Linked DNA regions of Homo sapiens: regions 2 and 3 are each linked to region 1. The links are contacts of gene promoters, found by promoter capture Hi-C in blood cells and fetal thymus (Javierre and others, 2016). All regions are on one chromosome and are shown on one strand. The core of a region is centred on a gene start or on the middle of the fragment in contact, and the rest is flanking DNA. Distances in the headings are between cores, read along the strand shown. Region 1 holds the start of RNF20 (ring finger protein 20). Region 2 holds the start of TLE4 (TLE family member 4, transcriptional corepressor). Region 3 holds the start of C9orf40 (chromosome 9 open reading frame 40).

The links. Contacts are between HindIII fragments. The CHiCAGO score rates a contact against its expected background, and 5 or more counts as called.
Region 2: the fragment with the promoter of TLE4 here is called in contact with the fragment with the promoter of RNF20 in region 1 in 2 of 17 cell types (non-activated CD4 T cells and activated CD4 T cells); the score reaches 7.3 in non-activated CD4 T cells.
Region 3: the fragment with the promoter of C9orf40 here is called in contact with the fragment with the promoter of RNF20 in region 1 in 2 of 17 cell types (fetal thymus and total B cells); the score reaches 14.5 in fetal thymus.

The regions. Positions count from the first base shown.
Region 1 is chr9:101,531,229-101,535,225 of GRCh38, reverse strand. RNF20 (ring finger protein 20) reads right to left here and starts at 1,373. Exons shown (of 20, transcript NM_019592.7): 1 at 1,312-1,373. It also overlaps a transcript of PGAP4 not described here. RefSeq lists an enhancer at 1,502-1,631. The HindIII fragment of the contact is 1,893 bases long and covers 1-1,494 here.
Region 2 is chr9:79,570,402-79,574,031 of GRCh38, reverse strand. It overlaps TLE4 (TLE family member 4, transcriptional corepressor), which reads right to left and starts at 2,067. Exons shown (of 20, transcript NM_007005.6): 1 at 1,197-2,067; 2 at 246-343. The coding sequence starts at 1,241. RefSeq lists silencers at 456-695, 716-1,185, 1,296-1,455, 1,516-1,635, 3,546-3,595 and enhancers at 526-1,138, 1,866-1,955, 1,996-2,045, 2,056-2,185. The HindIII fragment of the contact is 12,449 bases long and covers 1-3,630 here.
Region 3 is chr9:74,950,905-74,954,706 of GRCh38, reverse strand. C9orf40 (chromosome 9 open reading frame 40) reads left to right here and starts at 1,795. Exons shown (of 2, transcript NM_017998.3): 1 at 1,795-2,521. The coding sequence starts at 2,096. CARNMT1-AS1 (CARNMT1 antisense RNA 1) reads right to left here and starts at 1,742. Exons shown (of 5, transcript NR_121183.1): 1 at 1,590-1,742. RefSeq lists silencers at 1,814-2,023, 2,294-2,503 and an enhancer at 2,834-2,903. The HindIII fragment of the contact is 1,820 bases long and covers 1,234-3,053 here.

The sequences.
Region 1 (3,997 bases), core at 124-2,623:
TAGAGTAAAAGTCAAGGCGGGCCGGGCGCGGTGGCTCATGTCTGTAATCCCAGCACTTTGGGAGGCCGAGGCGGGCGGATCAAGAGGTCAGAAGATCGAGACCATCCTGCCTAACACGGTGAAACCCCGTCTCTACTAAAAATACAAAAAATTAGCCAGGCGTGGTGGCGGGCGCCGGTAGTCCCAGCTACTCGGGAGGCTAAGGCAGGAGAATCACTTGAACCCGGGAGGCGGAGCTTGCAGTGAGCCGAGATCGCACCACAGCACTCCAGCCTGGGCAACAGAGCGGGACTCCGTCTCAAAAAAAAAAAAAAAAGAAAGTCAAGGCTAAATTTACATGACTATAAATTTCTAAATAGGATGGTGATAAGAATGGTGATAAGAAATGAGACAATGGGCAAAGGGTGAAGAGACCAAAAATAAAGTTCTGGAATCTCTCTTCCTGTAATGCCAAAATCAGAAAAGGGCAGTTTGATTATGCCAGAAGTTAATACTACAGTGTTGAAAGAATCACAGAGCTGAAAGAGATCTGTGAAATGCCTACTAAAGTCATTAGTACTAGACAAGTCAGTTATCATCTCTAAGCCTCAGTTTCCTAACCCAGGAATAAATAACCACAGTATATACTTCCTATGCTTATTATAAAATAAAATGGATGATATAATTATAGAAAGAATTTGGCACAAAGCCGAACACAAAGTAAGCACTCAGAAACCCCAGCTCTTCTTTAACGTTTGCAGTGTTTTCCCTATTTCCAAACGCTCTCTCCACTGTTTTATGCAACCCTACGTTAGTTAGACCTGGGTGCGAATTTCAGTTCTGCCTGTTAGAGGCCGTGTTGCTTTGAAACAGTGAATTCGCCAAGAGCTTCAGTTTCCTCAACTGCACAATATTAACGAATATATTTTTCGTCTGCCCTGCCTACCTCCCAGGGTGCTCAAAGGAGGCGGAATGGATGCTAAAGCACTTTGGCTACTTCAGGAAACAACGCAGCCATCACCGAGACTAACAAGACTACTCTGCTTCCAATTCAAGCTCCAGGAGAGGACTATCGCTGGCAACAACCTCAGTAGGACCTCGCCTGGAGAGAGAAGACACAGAAGCAGAACAAGGCTGCAATCCAACTCGCTAAAAGCCAAAGACCTCAGCCTCAGCGTGGATAATTGCAGGCCCAGGAGACTGACGGCCCCAAAACTGGAGAGGGTGGAGACTCCTGAGGCCTGGCACAGTCCTGTTGGGCCCTAAGCGTGATCTAACCTAAGTTCTTTGAACTGGCGCCGCGCGGGAACAGAACTCGCAGCAGTTACTCACCAAGGCCCGTGCAGAGATTCCAGCTCTCACCCCTGACCCGCGGCGGAGACAAGGCAGAACTTCCGGGAGGCGGGGCCACGGAGAGGAAAAAGGGAAAGAAAAAAGGAAGTGGCTTCAACCCAGCCCATAGGACTATGAGACCCCGCCGGGCGGAAGTGACGTACGGAGAGGGCACGAGAAGCTTGAGCAAGCGCCGCCTCCCTAGCAACGCTGGGCAAGCGCGGGACCCTCTCCTGGCTACGACCTCTAAGAGTACTCGGGCCTCGCTGATGCCTGACGGAGAGCCCTTGGCTTTTGTTGACTTGTTGACCTTTGCTACTGCGATCTGGTCTTTCTGCGGGGATAAAGTTCCTCATTCTGTTGCTTGTCATTGGGGTTGCCATCACTCGTTCAGACGGCCGATTGGCTGACGGTCCCGTCAATCTCCGGGGACATGACTAGCCTCAGACACCTCAGAAAATTGTTCGTTGGTACCCCTACGTGCTGAAATGAAGAGTTCTGGAGAGAATCTGAGGGATTTGAGGAATTTCAGATGTTGGGGATTTTTTCCCCCGCACAGGGAGCGGTATTCTGCCCTGTCTACACATTAGAATCACTTGGCCTGGACAAAAGCTTTTTTAAAAAAGCGTTCCCCTCATCTCCTCCCCCCAAACCCCGCATTTCCATCCACTAGATTCTAATGCGTAAGCAGGAGTGACAACTACTGCCCTTGTGCTTTTTTGGGAACAAGAAATTGTCCAGGGAAAAGATAAACGCCAATCAGTCTCTGATCTCAGTACTAGTCTATTTTAAGCTAATTAAGCATTGATTTTTTTTTTTAAGTTTATGACAAACTGCTATTTTCCATTCAGTTAAACTAAATGCGTTTTAATGATAGGACGGTAATTAATCTAACCTATTAATGAAAAGCTGTATGTCTCGCAGAACTATGATAAACTACCTAATGACGTCAGCTAAGGGTCTAGAAATGGAAGAATGATCGCTATATCTTTTTTAAAAAATAGAATTTAGGCATCTTGGGAAAAAAAGAAGCTAATCTACACTGGATTTCTGTTAGTGTGAAGACTTTTGTCCCTGTACCTGCTAGGGCTTACCTGTAAATGAAGTAAGATGGTCAACACCAGGGAAACAAGTGTTCCTGGTGCCTGGCAGTGGAACACCTTGACTATCTTGGAAAGAATTAACTGGCCCCAAGTGGACTTCACATTTCATTCCGTGAAGTGGGAGCCTGAGAACATGTGAGTGGGGACACACCTGCCGAAAAGCATTGTATGAGACAATGACACTCATTCTCTCATCTTCTTTGGTTCCTCTACTCTTAGCAAGCCTTTCATTCATAGAACTACTGAATGGCAAGTAATGGTTTTTCTAGCCCAGAAAACTAGAGGTTCACAGACTGCATTTAGCCAACAGTTATGCTTTGTTTATTTTAGACAGTATTGGCTGTCCTGCGTGGTTAAAAACAAGAACAAAAATGAACTTAGTTGCCAACATTTAAAATATGGCTATTTTACATAAAAATCCAAATTATCAGTTTCTCTAAAAAATGTTGATGATCTTGCAACAGAAGGGTTATATTTTTGCATGGTCACATTGCTTAGAGCAAAGTAGTGGCTTCTTCTTTTTTTTTTTTTTTCTTTTTTTCGAGACAGAGTCTTACTCTGTCACCCAGGCTGGAGTGCAGTGGCACAATCTCGGCTCACTGCAAACTCCACCTCACAGGTTCAAGCAATTCCCATGCCTCAGCCTCCCAAGTGGGTGGGATCACAGGCACACGCCACCACACCTGGCTAATTTTTGTATTTTTAGTAGAGATGGGGTTTCGCCATGTTGGCTAGGCCGGTCTCAAACTCCTGACCTCGGACGATCCATCCACCTCAGCCTCCCAAAGTGCTGAGATTACAGGCCTGAGCCACAGCTACTGGCAATGAGCCACCACGCTTGGCGTGGCTCTCTTTTATTAATAGATCATGTTATTCTTGTTTACCATAATCCCCACTAATCTTTACTGGTTCCTTAGCACTAGTATAGTTTAATTTGAGTATCATCACTTGTGTGTTACATTGTGATAAATCAATTGCTGGTACTACGTAAGTGTCTGGTGGACATTATTGGTGATCTACCCAACAGCTATTCCCCTTCCCTCACCTTAGCAGAACCAGGATTTTTTTCATGTATCCATATAGCACTTTGATTCCATTAAGTCTTAGGGAAAACTGATTTCACCCCAATCTCCAAGGATTGTCTTAAATACTAAGTTCCATTTCCCAAGCCAAAGTCCTAGTCAGCAATTGACACTTTAATCAGGGTGAATTTCTTTGAATACTAGAATTGAAGCAGATTTTTATCTTCCAGATTTTCTGTGTGAGGCTGAAACTGTTGGAGGCTTCCTGAGATCATTCTTGAGAATGGAGCGACCACATAGGGGTGAGCAGAACCAAGAGAATCTCAGGGAAATGGAGCCAATCAACTGAGTTAGGTCACCCCTAACTTCAACCCACACTTGAGTGTTAGAGAAGATTCTACAAAGAGAGCAGACTTTTCTAGTACCTTTCAATTCTCACCATGTAGGTAACCATATTCTCTAGCAACTGGGATATATGTCTTTCTCAAAAGTTCCAGTTATCTAACACCTTCACAGGTGTCACAGCTCTCCAGAAAATAAAATCAACTCTGTGTGTGTGTG
Region 2 (3,630 bases), core at 818-3,317, about 22 Mb after region 1:
GTTTTCCAAGTCTCCCCAGTTTCGATTGTTCTGCCTTCTTTTTATTTACGGTAGAAGAAATGTTTAATTTATTTACACCTGCCTAAGGAAGGAGGCCTTGATTTGCCCTTTCTGCCCACCGAGAAAAAAAAATAATACCTTTGTGACGCCCCCACAAAAAAGGAGGAGGGTAAGTGTTTGTGTGTATTTGTCGGGGAGACAAGAGCTAAGCAAACAGAAGGATCAGCTAAAGTCAATATCGTTACCTGTGGTATTGAGCCTGTAAAAACTGAAACTCTTCCTTAATCCGATCACAGGATTCGGAAATTGTAAATTTAAAGGGTTGAGCAGGCTGATGCGGTGCCTGAAGAACAACAATAAAATATTTAATTAGCCCACATCACAGGCGAAGCAGGGAGACGGAGAAAACCTACTATGCGGCGTTAGCGGGGGGTGAGGGTCATCGCGCACGCAAGCAAAGAGAGATTAAAACTCTCCTCCCGCAACCCTCCTCGCGCCCAACAGCCCAGGCAGAGGCTGGTTTCGAGGTGGTCCTGGGGCCCCGCATACTCCCGCCCGCAGGCCCCCGCGCCCCGGACCCCGAGGGTTCGAGTCCCGTCTCCCCTCCCCGGCCAAAGACAGGCACCCAGGGACCCGCGCGCCGCGCCCACTCCCTCCTCACCCGGAATCGAAACTGGCCCGTCGGGGGGACCCGCGCCATGGCGTCGGGCTGCGGTCAGGCCGGGGGAGGAGGGAGGCGGCCGCCACCCTCTCGGCTCGTTCGTTCGCCCGCTCGCCCCGGCGGCCCGCGGCGCGAGGGGCCGGCGCCCCGCACTTCCAAACCGCAGCCAGCCCAGCAGCGCCGCTGCCGAGGGCGCCCTCCCCGCCCGGGCGCGGAGTCGCGCCTCCTTCATCGCTCGCCACCCCCCCTCGAGGAGTCGCGGCGCGGGGACCGCAAACGGCTCGGCGCGGCTTCCAGGGGCTTCAAAGACAACAATAAGAAAATGGCTACAACTCAATTGCCTCTCCGCACCCCCTCCGAGGGCCACCGCGCCGGGGGGTGGGGGTGATGGCGGGCGGGCTGCTCCCGGCGCGGGGCGCCGATTTCGGGCGGCTCTCCACGCCCCTCCGGCCAAAAGACACAACTCGGTGCGCAGGGGGCGACGCGGGGAATCCCCCAGCACCCGGCGAGCCCGCGCCCCGCCGCCCGCACTCACTGGGTGTCTGGTCTGCGGGTACATCTTGCTCAGGTCGCGAATCATCCAAGCCGATTTAGTTGGCTGCGCTCGGCAGAGGCGCGCGGCTCATTGGCTTTAATGACCCCGAAGAGGAGGCGGCCGCGGCAGCGGAGGCGGCCGGCTCGGTCTGAGGGGCGGCTCGGGCGGTCCCGGCCCCCGCCGGGTCTCGCGTGACACGGGCGGCAGGAACGCGCGGCGGCGGCTGGGTGCCGGCTGCCGGGCCGCTCCGCATTCCCCGCGGGCGTCACTGGCCCGCCGCGGGCATTGTCCGGCGCGCGTCTCCCAAGGCAACGCTCCGACGTTCGCTCCGCCGAGGCGCACCCGCCGAGCCCGGCGCCGCGGCCGCCGCTCACCCGGCCGGGAAAGTGCGGGCTCCGCGCCCCACCGCCCGCCGGCAGCTCCTCTCGCTCGCTCTGCGTCCCACTCCAAACTTTTTTTATTTGTCTTTTAATTGGTTGTTATTCCTCCGAATGAATGATCTTTCTTCTTCCCTAAAAGCAAACACAAACTCCTTTGGTTCGGAAGAGGTCTCGGCGGTGCTTTTTGGTTTCTCTGGAGATTTTTTTCACTTCACAGCAACGATCTTTTAAAAGGCACCTTTTAGCTTCTTTTACCACATCTCATTTCCTTATTTCTCTTCCTTCCTGTTTTCTTGTCTTTTTTTTAACCCCAAATTGAAGGGGATTATAAAAATAAAAGAGTGAAACGCTTGCGGCTTTTTTTTTTAATTCTCTCTCCTTTCAAACTCTGCGAACACCACCTCAAAATAATATACAAGTGTGTGAGAAAGGGGGAAGAAAGCAGCCAACAACCCAAACACCCGCTCAGCACAGCTCTAACAACACGCTCTGTGTAGGTGACTTCTTTGACCAAATTTAGCAGCAGCTAATCATTAACATTCTGATACATATTCACAATCTTCCGCGGGGCGGCCGCGCAGCATCCCGGGAGATGTAGTCCGCCCCGGGCGACCCTGCCTGAGAATACGGCCAGATTGACTACAATCACCGGCCCGCCATGCGAGCGCTCTGGCGAGCTCTCCAAGCGCCCCGCCCACCCCCGTTGCGGTAGGCGTCTCCACCAACCAATCAGAGGTGGCTGAACATTAATCGCCGTTCTGTGTTAGTGCCCATCATTTCACTGCTGACAAATGGCAAGCCAGCGGGGAGGAGCCAACCCAGCTGAAACCCACGTGGGGGCCGGGCGTCGCCTGTAGCTCCGACCAATTAACGAAGAGGAATGAGGTTGGCGGAGGCGGGGCGGAGATGGCCCGCCCAAGGCGGAGCTTCGCCTTGGCTGACGTTCCTTAGCGCGAGCGTTCGAACCGGGAAAACATTTGTTCAGCTGTCAATCAAAGTAACGTGGGGCTGGGAGAATCGGCGGCTGCTGCTGTTGCTGCTGCCCTGGCTGCATCTTCAGAATTAGGTGTTGGTGGTGGTGGTGGTGGTGGCGGCAAAATAAAGAGGGTGGAGGGAGCGGTGAGCCTGGGGGCTGGTCAAAAGATCTTCTTCCGAGTCTCGTCCTCCCGCCCACCCGTCTCCCAACCCAGACACCTTCGGCCCCTCGCTCCGCAGCCGCGCCAGGAATGCGGACTAATTAGGGTCCAATGTCTCCTTAAAGAGACAAGCTCGGCCTTGTGTAACGCGCCGAAACCCCTGTTGAGACAAGAGGGGGAGGATCACGCTGATCTTACTTCGTTCGGTTCACATCAATTTTACGCGCCGCTGGAGCCGGCATAATTTTCCGTGTGAACGCGACTCGGTCCCCGTTCTTGTTTAGAGCCAGAAATGGAGTCGCGAGATGCTGGCTGGGGCCGGGGCCGCGGGGTGGGCGGGGAGCTCGTCCCTCCAAGCCCCGCGGGGGCTGTGATTGCCATTTAGTTCCGAAACAGGCCTCCCTCCCTCCACCCCCGGAGGCACTCGGAGAGAAAGCGCATCCCGACGCTCCATCGGGGGTCGCGGGGGGCAGTAACCGTGGGGGCTCCGGGTGGGGCTGAAGATCCGGGAATCAGAGACGCTGGACCTCCAAAGAAACTTTGCCGACTGGGCCACGTGAACCCCGAACACGGTCGGTACTGAACAGAGCAGGCCGACGGGGCACGGGTAGAAAACGCCCCTGCGCGCCCTGGGACGTTCCCTCCCCCAGATCAGTACCAAGACTGCGCCTCTTTTTCCCGCTCTTTGGAGAAGCAAGTCAAGTTTATCCCCGTTAAAAACAGAGCAGGGTGCCACGCGGGCCCGAGAGATGGCGGAAAGGTGGGGGTGGCCCCAGGGGCAGATGCTGGAGGAGGAGAGAAAGGGGCAGCCATGGCTGAGGAGGGGCACCCCTAGGGAGGGGCCTGGGAAATGGGGGCGGCCTCCGTCAGTGCGCCTTTCCATCCTTAGTCCGTGTCCAGCTGGAGGCAGCGCCCCAG
Region 3 (3,802 bases), core at 546-3,045, about 27 Mb after region 1:
GGGTTTTCAATTTATTTTTTTTTTTTTGGAGACAGGGTCTCACACTGTCACCCAGGCTGGAAGTACAGTGGTGCAATCTTGGCCTCTGCCTCCAGGGTTCAAGCGATCCTCCCACCTCAGCCTCCCTGGGACTACAGGTGCAAGGCACCACCTCTGGCTAATTTTTGTATTTTCTGTAGAGATGGGGTTTCACCATGTTGGCCAGGCTGGTATGGAACTCCTGGGCTCAGGTGATCTGTGCACCTCATCTTCCCAAAAGTGCTGGGATTAAAGACGTGAGCCACCGCACCCGGCCGGTTACCAATTTCAAACAAGAAAAGTAAAAACCAAACAGAAAAGCTATTGCTTACTACCCTAACTTGGTACATTTCTGTGCTTGTTAATAACTAATAATTAACTTGTCCTCTCACAACCACCTTGAGATGCAGGGGTACAGGGTAAATTAGTACTGAGATAGTACCTAGCACTAAAATAGAATTATCTTTCTTGCACACTTTTTCTACAGAGGATGATAGTTTTTCCCTTCAAAGCACTGGTAATAGTCTTATTTTCTTCCTTCCATTTCTGCTTACTTGGTTACTGTCTTTATCAAACTATTAAAATAGTAAATACGACCAGATGCGGTGGCTCACACCTATAAACCAAGCACTTTGGGAGGCCCAGACAGGAGATCGCTTGAGCTCAGTGGGGCCCGGCTGCAGTGAGCCGTGATGGCACCACTGCACTCCCGCCTAGGTGGCCGAGAGAGACCCTGTCTCAAACAAAATAAAAAATAAAAATAATAAAATAGTAAATATACTGCAATTGTCTCCACCTCACTTCACCTGACAACACTATTTTGCTGTAATGGCCATAGAATCTTGATCTGACCACCGCCCATAGTAAGCAGGGAACTCAGCCTTCCAACATTAATTAAGAGCCCAACAATTTTAGGTTTCAGTTAGAAAGGACAGCTGCGCTTCAGGCTTGGTTCTTGCCAACTACTCAGCTATTTTGGATGAGCTGCACATTTTGTCTGTAACTTCCTCCATAAGTTTTTAATCAAGAGATCTTCCAGGAATGTAGGGCCTGCTTCACCTTCCACAGCAGCTGCGCAAAACATGCAAAACATACACTTCGATTTGTGTTTTCTGTTAGCTTTAGCTACTTCCCTCAGCCCAGACTCCCTTCAGTCTTTTGTTTTGAATAACAACCTACTGTGAAGCTTCTTAAACACTAGTTTTATTTAAAGCTTGTATTATCCTTTTCCTTTTTTTTTTTTTTTTTTTTGAGACGGCATCTCGCTCTGTTGCCCAGGCTGCAGTGTAGTGGTGCGATCTCTGGCTCACTACAGCCTCCACCTCCCAGGCTCAAGTGAATCTTCCTCCTCAGCCTCCCGAGTAGCTGGGACCACAGGGGCAGGCCAACAAGCCTGGCCTATTTTTGATTTTTTGTAGAGACGAGGTCTTGCTATGTTGCCCAGGATAGTCTGGAACTCTATTATAATCTTTGTCTTAATCTCATGGAGACGCCCCCGTGGTCACTGACTGGAGGAAGGAAATACACATTTTAAAGGTTTTAAATTTCCTATAGAAGGGTCTAGAACGTACCGCGCTATAACGAACATAGTAGTAAGACCACCGCCACACTCCTGAGGAAACAAGGTCACGCCCCTCTGCGGGCCGCTTGATCGGGTCTTTAATTAATCCCGCCGCGGCCTTCCCGCCTACCCCCGAGCGCGCACTTCCGGTCGCGAGGGCGCTCGGGAGCGCGCCCCGCGAGCCTCCACCAACCAGCGGCTCCGCCTGGCCAGACAGAGTGCGCGCGCGCACGTTGTGCGCAGGTTCGAATCTCCGCCGCTTCGCGGTTGCTTCTCAACGTCCGGGCCGCATCTCGGCGGCGGCGAGGGCTGAGCGCGGGAGCTGCCTCCGAGCCGGAGCCCCAGCCCTAGGCCCTGCGCGAGCTGCCCCGCCCTACCCCCTCCAGCGTCCTGTCGCCTCCTCGCCCGACTTCGGCCTGTCCCTCTCTCACGCGCTCAGTCCTCGCTCTTCGCCCCCCGCAGCTATCGGCACTCGGTCTCCCGCGCCTGGCGGGCTCCGCCCGAGCCTCTGGGCCCATGGCCAAGCGGCGTGCGGCCGAGCCGGTGACGTTCCACGTGCCTTGGAAGCGGCTCCTGCTTTGCGACTTCGCTGAGCAGCCGCCGCCACCGCCTCTCTGGATCCGGCCGCCCGGGGTCGCGCATGCTGGGCAGCTCCTCGGCGTCCCAGAGCAGCACCGAAAGCGCAAAATCGACGCAGGGACCATGGCAGAGCCCTCGGCTTCGCCCAGCAAGCGCCGTGACAGCGGGGACAACAGCGCCCCGAGCGGCCAGGAGCGTGAGGACCACGGTCTGGAGACAGGCGATCCGCCGCTGCCGCCGCCGCCCGTACTGCCGGGGCCGGGGGAGGAGCTCCCGGGCGCCCGGCTCCCGGGGGGCGGTGGCGACGACGGGGCGGGGCGCGCAGGACCCCCGCGGGGAGACTGGGGGGTCGCATCGCGCCAGGTAGGGGCTGGGGGCGGGTGGGCTGAGGGGCGAAGGGGCTTGCCTTTTCCCCACACACACAAAACGCCCCGGTTCCCACTCATGACTTGTGTAGGTTAAGACGCCTGAGGGGGTTGAAAGAAGGGGTCACCGCTCCGGGAGAGGACGCCGACCGCCAGAAGCACACCCCGAGAGTCCGATGGGCAGAAAGCACTGGGCTGGGCGAGGGGGAAACAGACCGTGGTCGGGAGCGATAGAAGTGGCCTTGCGGCGTCAGCGCCGCGCTCCGTAAAAGGGAAACGGGACCGTGGGTCGTGGCGGGCTGTGAGCATGGCGAGAACGCAGACCGTCAGGGCATAGGTTCAGCCCAAAGACAAACGACAGATAAAGGTGTAGAGGGCCTTCCTGGGTTTAACGATGATTAGTCTAGAATTCGGGATAGAGTTCTTTTTCTAGAGGGAGACCAGTGTGGTAGCCATTGATTAATTGAACGTCCTACCGGCTGGTACAGCTTCTGGAGAAAAGGATGGACCACCGTACCTTGGTCAAAGCTTTGTTTTAACTCATAGTGTTAAATCTGATCCTAGGCAAAAGTATCATTGAAAATTAATTTGGGGGCGGGGCGTGGTGTCTCACGCCTGGAATCCCAGGACTTTGGGAGGCCACGGCGGGTGGATCACCTGAGGTCGGGAGTTCGAGACCAGCCTGGCCAATAGGGTGAAACTCTGTCTCTATTAAAACACAAAAACTAGCTGGGTGTGGTGGTGTATGCCCGTAATCACAGCTACTCGGGAGGCTGAGGCACAAGAATCACTTTAACCTGGGAGATGGCGGTTGCAGTGAGCTGAGATTGGGCCAGTGCACTCCAGCCTGGGCCACAGAGTGAGACGCTGTCTCAAAAAAAAAGAAAAGAAAAGAAAGAAAAAAGAAAATTAATTTGGGCCTTAAGGCGTATATGAGAATCATTGGCGGGTTTTTATTCAAGACATGAGCCTGCCTCATCTCTGCATGTAAGAATCCTGAGAAGATCTAGGTATGCCTCGGTTTGCCTAGATCTCTGCTGCCCGGCCGCTAGCCGGTAAGAACACTTGAAACGTGACTAGTCCAAATGGAAATGTGCTCTAAGTTTAAAATATACACGAAATTTCGTGGATTTAATAAATGAAGATAAAATAGCTCAATTTTATATTGATTACACATGAAATAACTTGGCTATATTGAAGAAAATATATTAAAATTAATACCAGAAGTTTCTTTTACTTTTTAAATACAGCTACTAGAAAATTTTAAATTATGTTTTTG